3 separate regions of the Homo sapiens genome follow, and regions 1 and 2 are each linked to region 3. The links are contacts of gene promoters, found by promoter capture Hi-C in blood cells and fetal thymus (Javierre and others, 2016). All regions are on one chromosome and are shown on one strand. Each heading gives the region's core, a stretch centred on a gene start or on the middle of the fragment in contact. The rest is flanking DNA. Distances are from core to core; before and after follow the strand shown.

Evidence for each region. Contacts are between HindIII fragments. The CHiCAGO score rates a contact against its expected background, and 5 or more counts as called.
Region 1: a fragment that was not itself captured here is called in contact with the fragment with the promoter of TCN1 in region 3 in 4 of 17 cell types (M2 macrophages, erythroblasts, M0 macrophages and 1 more); the score reaches 7.6 in M2 macrophages.
Region 2: a fragment that was not itself captured here is called in contact with the fragment with the promoter of TCN1 in region 3 in 4 of 17 cell types (erythroblasts, M2 macrophages, M1 macrophages and 1 more); the score reaches 6.4 in erythroblasts.

Annotation. Positions count from the first base shown.
Region 1 is chr11:60,145,220-60,147,919 of GRCh38, forward strand. No RefSeq gene overlaps it. Among named protein-coding and RNA genes, the nearest start is that of LINC02705, 18 kb to the right of the region's middle. The HindIII fragment of the contact is 1,328 bases long and covers 709-2,036 here.
Region 2 is chr11:60,126,325-60,129,024 of GRCh38, forward strand. No RefSeq gene overlaps it. Among named protein-coding and RNA genes, the nearest start is that of LINC02705, 37 kb to the right of the region's middle. The HindIII fragment of the contact is 860 bases long and covers 931-1,790 here.
Region 3 is chr11:59,865,225-59,867,924 of GRCh38, forward strand. TCN1 (transcobalamin 1) reads right to left here and starts at 1,263. Exons shown (of 9, transcript NM_001062.4): 1 at 1,168-1,263. The coding sequence starts at 1,246. The HindIII fragment of the contact is 12,351 bases long and covers 1-2,700 here.

The DNA.
Region 1 (2,700 bases), core at 123-2,622, 280 kb after region 3:
AAAACCTGGAACCATTTGTCATGTAATGCAATCTCCAGTTCCCCTGCACCATCAGGAAGTGGATGGAAAAATGGGGCAAACTTCCCAATACCCAGAGGGTAATAAGTAAAAGGCCAGAATGAGCAGAGATGAAAACCATATTATAAGCAGATCTTGCTGTATTTCTTGGGGAGCAAATCTCAATTCCTGCCTAAGAGAATCAAATAAAGTCTATGAATAGGTAACTCCAGGATTACTAATTATTTCTTTGTCCAACTAGATGTTTTTATTCTTTTTAATCCTCCTAATTGATCATGGTATTTTGACTGTGAGTGTGGGAAAGTACAGACAACATGATTTCCCAAATAACAAGAAAGTGGTTCCAGAATTGTAGGAAAAATAATGTTAAATCATTAAAAATTTCCTGAGATTGTGCTAAGTATAACAAATGTCTGAGACTCTGGATTTTCTACCTCGATGAGAAAATAAGTGCATTTCCTTTTTGGGGAGAGAGTTGAACATTTGGGTGGCCAGAGAAAAGACTGTGTTAGGGCCAGAGAATGTGGATTGTCTAGCAATTTTTATTCTGATCTTGCTTCCTTGAATAGAGCTCCTGGTTTTAACCTAGACATACAACTGCTCAGTCAATAGCTAGATTTCGTCACCACTCATAACTGTGTGTGGTTATATGACAAAGATCTGTCCATATGATGCAGACATAAAGGAAAAAGCTTTAGTTACAACTTTCATACCTTAAAAGAAGCCACACAAGGAAGAAAGCAAAGCTATACTCCCGGGTACGGACTACCTACTCCTGAGCTGTTGCAGAACAGGAAAATCAAATGACAATTTCTTTAAATCACTTTGTATATAGTCCTAGTTCACAGCATGTTAAATGTACTGTATCACAGTAGTATAATTTATCTCTTTCTTTTTGTCACCCAAGGTGAAGTGCACTGTTCAATCAACACTTACTGTAATCTCAGTCTCCTGGGCTCAAACAGTTCTACCACCTCAGTCTCCCAAGTAGCTAGTACTACAGGCATGTGCCACACATCCGGCCAATGTTTTATTTTCTGTAGAGATGGGGTCTCACTCTGTTGCCCAGCTTTGTCTTGAACTCCTGGACTCAAGTAATCCTCTCACCTCAGCTTCCCAAAGTACTAAGATTACAGGCATGAACCACTACGCCAGGGCCAATTTATTTCTTCATTGGGCAATTGACTTTATATACTTTGAGTGTTTTGTTTTGTTTTGTTTTTTGAGACACAATTTCCTTCTGTCACCCAGGTTGGAGTGCAGTGGTATAATCTCAGCTCACTGCAAACTCCGCCTCCCAGGTTCAAGTGACTCTTGTGCCTCAGCCTCCTGAGCAGCTGCGATTACAGACGTGCACCGCCACGCCCAACTAATTTTTGTATTTATAGTAGAGATGGGGTTTCTCCATGTTGGTCAAGCTGGTCTCAAACTCCTGGCCTCATGTGATCTACCTGCCTCCGCCTCCCAAAGTGCTAGGATTACAGGTGTGAGCTACTGCGCCCAGCCTACTTTGAGTTTTTTTGAAGTGAATGGCCTACTTTCATATCCTTACCATGTGCACAGTGTATCAAACAAATAAGTGTTCAATAGATATTAAATCAACTAATGAATCAATTAACAAATAATATTGAATTACTTGGTGTTACCGTTGAGAGTTTCTGAGTATCCTAGGTGTTTATAAATGTAGGGCAAATATGACCAAAATACTGTTTGAGGAGTGGTCCTCAAAAACTATACACGAACAACAGCTGTGCCTTTCTTCCTCTTAACAAATATTTGAAAAATTATATGCAAGATTACTAAATAAAATAATCAATTGCATCCTCATTCTCTCAACTGTTACTCACCCAACTGATTTTACTGCCATCTGCAGTATAGGTGAGTGTGCAGAGAGCAAAAGTAATTGAAAGTTGCAAGCAGTTTAGCATCATCAGTACAATCACAAGGCCCCGTTAAAGAGAACAGAATTCCGTTGGCTGGGATTCCACCTCATGGTCGTATCAAGACTTGTATCCTAAAGCTTCATCTCAGGCCTTTGGAGTCCCCTCCACTTTGCATTAAACAAAATGATGACACGAGTTTGAATCTCAATTCAAAAATATATGTTCTGCTTTTGAAGAAGAAGTGGATTTCAAAAAAATAAAACAAAACACCAACACAAAACAAAACAAAGCAAACAATAACAACAAAAAGCCAGCGTTACTTTGAATTTTAACGCAACAGTGCCTGTATTAAAAAATAGTCTCGGTAACTTTCCAGTATTCCCAACGATCATTTTGCTGAGGGCTTTCAGAGGTTGGAGGGTGGGAGCAGGGAGAGGATCAGGAAAAATAACTAATGGGTACTAGGCTTAATACCTGGGTGATGAAATAGTCTGTACAGCACGTTCCAATGCCACAAGTTTATCTATATAAGAAACCTGCACTTGTACCCATGAACTTAAAATAAAAGTTAAAGAAAAAGGCCCGAAGACAGTCCAATGGATAAGGGTCTAGGGAGAAAGTTCAAAAGTTCCTGATTAATAAACACTTTCATGTGCAAAAAAAAAAAATAGGATCTCTTCTCAGACGTCAGAAAAAAATGCAGTATCTGCACATTTTTTCAACGGATAGGGAATTCATGGAGAAATGGTAATGGACCCAGATCTCCCTACCGAATCTAGTCTCCTAAATAAAACTAAGA
Region 2 (2,700 bases), core at 111-2,610, 260 kb after region 3:
GCATGACTAATTGAACCATTGGTCATTAGTGATTAACTGAATTTTCAGCCCCTCTTCCCCTTCCTGGAAGTTGAGGGTTGAGACAAAAAAATCCAACCCTCTGGGCACAATGAATCATTCCCCTGGGAATCAGCCCTCCAACCAGTTGTTTCTAGGGCTTTCTAAAAATTGTCTTATTAACATAAGCTTAGGAGTATTTTATTTTATGTATTTATTTTTTCTTTTTAAAAAACTTTTTATTAAAAAAAGTTTAAACCTTTAGAAAAGTTACAAAAATTGTAAAATGAACTCTCATATGCCTTTACCTAGATTCATCAACTTTTTCTTTTTCTTTCACAATTTTTTTTATTATTATACTTTAAGTTCTGGGGTACATGTGCACAACATGCAGGTTTGTTACATATGTATACATGTGCCATGTTGGTGTGCTGCACCCGTTAACTTGTTTATTTACATTGGGTATATCTCTAGCTTAGGAGTATTTTAAAGCACTTGTTGTAAATAACAAAAGACTGTCTTTCAACTTTATCTTTTAGGAGTGACTTCAGGAACCAAGGATAATCAAATACTTTAACAAAAGATATTCTTACTGCTTTAGTACTTGGGGCATGAGAAGTCTTATAGGAATCTTCCTAGTTGAAAACTAGGAGTCACGGATGGACAAAAACAAATTATATCTATCGTAACATCATAGATACTTATAAACATAAAAAGAAAATAATATTTCTGAGAGCCCAATATGAGGCAACCCCATTGAATGACTTATATATGTTAGCAGGTTTGATACTAACAACGCTTTTATTTTTGTAATTGCCCACTGCACAGCTACAGCCGATTCGTAGACAGCAGTATTACAGTAAAGATTTTAATAAATACAGAGCTAGCCAAATGGAAGGACAGGGGTTTATTACTCAAATCAGCCTCCTTGAAAGCTTGGGGGCTAGAGTTTTTCAAGGATAGTTTGGTTTGTAAGGGGCTAGGAGATGGGTAATGCTGATTGGTTGGGGATGATATCATAGGGGTTTGAAAAATAGTTCCTGTGTGCAGAGTCAGCCTCTGGGTGGGGACCACAGGATCAGTTGAGTCATGAGTCATGAGTCCAGGTGGAGTTAGTAGGTCATCGTCATCAGAATGCAAAAGTCTGAAAAACATCTCAAAAGACCCATGTTAGGTTCTACAATAGTGATATTATCTATAGGAGAAATTGGAGAAGTTGCAAATCTTGTGACCTCCAGAACAACGGCTGGTTATTATCTAGGTTTGCCTACATTTTAGCAGAATTCAGGCCTCTCCCATAATCCTAATCTTTCATTAGTTTTACAAAGGCAGTTTTGTCTCTGAGCAAGGAGATTTGTTTTACAGAGGCACTATTATCATTTTTGCTTCAACGTTAAACTATAACCTAATTCCTCCCATGGTTAGCTTGGCCTACACCCAGAAATGACCAAGGGCAGCCAATGTATGAGTCTAAAAGCAAGAAGAAATCAGCCATGCTAGACTTCTCTCACTGTCATAGTCTTTGCAAAGGGAGTTTCATTCTTAAAAACTATAAAAAAATCCAGAGATGATTTCTTTAATAAGTATTAGAGCTACAATTTAAAATCTAGCACCTCTGAATGGAGTGTCTACATTGTTTTTGCTGTTATCACACTGGTACCAATAAGAAAAATATATAATATAATTGAAATATAAAACATTTTGAAAGACTTGTCTGCTGAGACTTCCTTCCTCGAAGACTGTAAGACCTTGCTATAGATCAGGAGTTTATTACTCAGATCAGCCTCCTTGAAAGCTTGGGGGCTGGAATTTTTCAAGGATAGTTTGGTTTGTTTTTTACAATATGTTTTTTTTTTTACAATATGGTTCCAGAAGCATGAAGACTTAACTGCCTCTCTAACGGCTCTTAGGGTGTTTACAGCTCACTGAATTAAATCTGATTGTCTGGTTAATGTTGGAGCTCAGAAGCTAATAACTCAAATTATGGCACTTTAACTTGCTGAACTGAAGAAACCTCAAGGTCTTTCTGACCTTCCCCGGGCTTCCATCATCTCTCCCAAAGAAGTTGAAGTGCCTTTATCTGCCTAAATTCCAGATCCACCAAGAAGAACAATTGGTTTTTTCTTTGCTTTTCTGTAAAACCAAAAATGTAACAACGCCTGAATAGACCCTTTCACTGTCAAAGAGAGTTATTTAAAAGTTAATCTGTTCCCAGGGATCCTTTTATTCTTCCTAGTAATATCCTCAATACAATTCCTCTTCTCTCCCCTCCCATAACCTTTCTGGCCAGCATAATGTAGTGGCATCATTGTCTGGGGTAACACCCAAGGTTTGTTGTCCCACGTCATTTAAAGCTAGGAGGCAGACACATCAGAGTGAGGTTAAGCATAGAAATTTAATTTTTTTTCTTTTTCTTTCTTTCTTTTCTTTTTTTTTTTTTTTTTGAGATGGAGTCTCACTCTGTCACCTGGGCTGCAGCGCAATGGCATGATCTTGGCTCACTGCAACCTCTGCCTCGCAGGTTCAAGCAATTCTCCTGCCTCAGCCTCCCAAGTAGGTGGGATTATAGGTGTCCACCACCAAGTCTGGCTAATTTTTTGTATTTTTAGTAGAGACAGGGTTTCACCATGTTGGCCAGGCTGGTCTTGAACTCCTGACCTCTGGTGATCCACCCACCTCGGCCTCCCAAAGTGCTAGGATTAC
Region 3 (2,700 bases), core at 13-2,512:
CACAATGGAACAATTGTGAGTCAGTTCTCTGAGATTTTGTGGAACCATCCAGCTCAGCAGATTTTCTGGCCCTGAAACAGACTTTTTAGTTCCTGATCAACAACTCAAATCAGCTTCCTTGAGTCTCAAAGATAAATTTAATTATTATCATTATTATTTAAAATGAATTGAAAGCTAAAACCTACATAGCCATTCCCTATTCTTAGGATCCAACAGGGGAAATGTCAAGCCAAGAAGAAAAATCAGAGTCAGAAGAGTCTATGCTTTAGCCTGTATGTATACAAGCCTGTCTTCTGTGGTGTTCTCTTCTTACTGGTTAGAGAGCACAGATAGTACCACCTAGTAATCTTTGGACTGGTTTGAAGCTCAATTTCAGAGTAAAGTCTCACAAAAGAGAATTCATGCACTTGAGAACTGCACCAGACTTCATGAGATAATTTGCTTCAATAGTCTCCCCTCATTATCCTTTATTTATGAATGAAGCTAAAGAAATTCAGAAATGTTGGGTCATTCAATAACTAAGGGATCAAACTAAACCTGAATTTAGTTTTCCCTTCTCTTACTTTAAAGTTCTTTTACAGAACCACACAATCTCTGGGGTCAACACCCATGCAAGAGATGATGGAACTTTATCCCATGTGTCCTGGGAAAGAGTTGAAGGAAGGTGGACATGCAACTTGGAACATCTAAACTCACTCATGACAAGACAGCAGTCATCACTATTTGAAAGAGATTATTATTTTTTTCTATGTAGTTACAAGGGGTTAACCCAAAAATCATGCATTGAATTTCAGGGAAAAAAGATTGCATATCAAGACCAAAAGATAACTTTCCATGATCTAGAAAAGTTTCTGGGAGCATAAATTTTCTGTCATTGAAAAGTCACATGAATAGGGAGTTACTTGGTAGGGATGCTGTGCTAGAGAGGATCTGAGCATAGAAAGAGCAGTTAGGCAAGTGAATACACAATCTATAATTCCTCTTACAACAACATGCATTGTGAGACTTTCCTCACCATCTCCTGCCACCCTTTTCATCATTCATGGAGTCCAACCACATACGAAACTGGAATGGGATCTTTTCTCAGGTAACTCTACATAGAGTCTCTTGTCAACAGTTTTCAGTAGACTATCACTCTAGAGTAATTTTAGCTCAAAGTTTACTCACCACAAATCTCGCATAGTTGGCTTGGAATAAAAGAAAACAGTAAGAGCCCCACTAGGGGCAGCTGGTGTGACTGTCTCATCTCTCCAACAGTGTACCAGAATGTTGATGAATTGGCTGGCTATTTATTAAGTGATGGGCAGAAGGTAATGAGAGCTCCTCCTTCAGGTTGCCTCAGCCTCTTTTCACTCAAGCAAATATTGAGCAATGTCAGGAGGTGTGGTCAAGTGTATTTGTCCATGTGATGTAATAAATAAGGAAGAAGACTTGAAGGATGTGGTTAGGGAGAATAAGGCAATAACTTTCCTTTGTCTCCTGTCCTAAACCTTCGGGTTTCATATCTATTATTTGCCTTCCGTGCAGTGAAGATATATTAGGCAAATGACTGTTTCCTATAATCTTTCCTTTTTTTTCCGTTTCACTTTATGTTTTATGTTTCCTGATAAAGTAGATTTGATCATGCAAACACATACAACATATAAAAATGGAAGTAAAAGAAGACATCCAAATGGGAAGCAGGCATATGAAAAAGTGCTTGAAAAGGTGCTTAACATCATTGATCATCAGATAAATGGAAATCAAAGCTACAATGAGATATCCTCTCATCTCAGCTAAAAATGGCTTTATTCAAAACACAGGCAATAACAAATGCTGGCACGGATGTAGAGAAAAGGGAAGCCTTGTACACTGTTGGTGGGAATGTAAATTAGTACAATCACTATGGAGAACAGTTTGGAGCTTCCTCAAAAAACTAAACATAGAGCTACCATATGATCCAGCAATCCCACTGCTGGCTATATACCCAAAAGAAAGAAGACCAGTATATTGAAGAGATATCTGCACTCCCATGTTTGTTGCAGCACTGTTTACAATAACCAAGATTTGGAAGCAAGCTAAGTGTCTATCAACAGATAAATGAACACAGCAAATGTACATATACACAATGGAGTACTATTCAGCCATATAAAAGAATGAAATCCTGTCAGTTGTGACAAAATGGATGGAACTGGAGATAATTATGTTAAGTGAAATAAGCCAGGCACAGAAAGACATACATTGCATGTTCTCACTTATTTGTGGGATCTAAAAATCAAAACAATTGAATTCATAGAGATAGAGAATGAAAAGATGGTTACTGGGGGCTGGGAAGGCTAGTGGTGGGAAGGAGATGCGGAGGGTTAATGGGTACAAAATATTGGAAAGAATGAATAAGACCTACTATTGGTAGCATAACAGGGTGACTATAGTCAATAATAATTTAATTGTACATTTTAAATAACTAATAGTATAACTGGATTGTTTGTAACGTAAAGGATAAATGCTTGACAGGATGAATACCCCCTTCTCTATGATGTGATTATTACGCATTGCATGCCTGTATCAAAACATTTCATGAGCCCCATAAATATATACACCTACTATGTACCTACAAAAATTGAAATAAAAAAATTTAAAAACGGAAGTAAAAGTTGTAAGTCTGAAATTGAAGCAGGCAGTATTGGAGAACCCAGCACATGAGGGGATCTTTGGCATAGT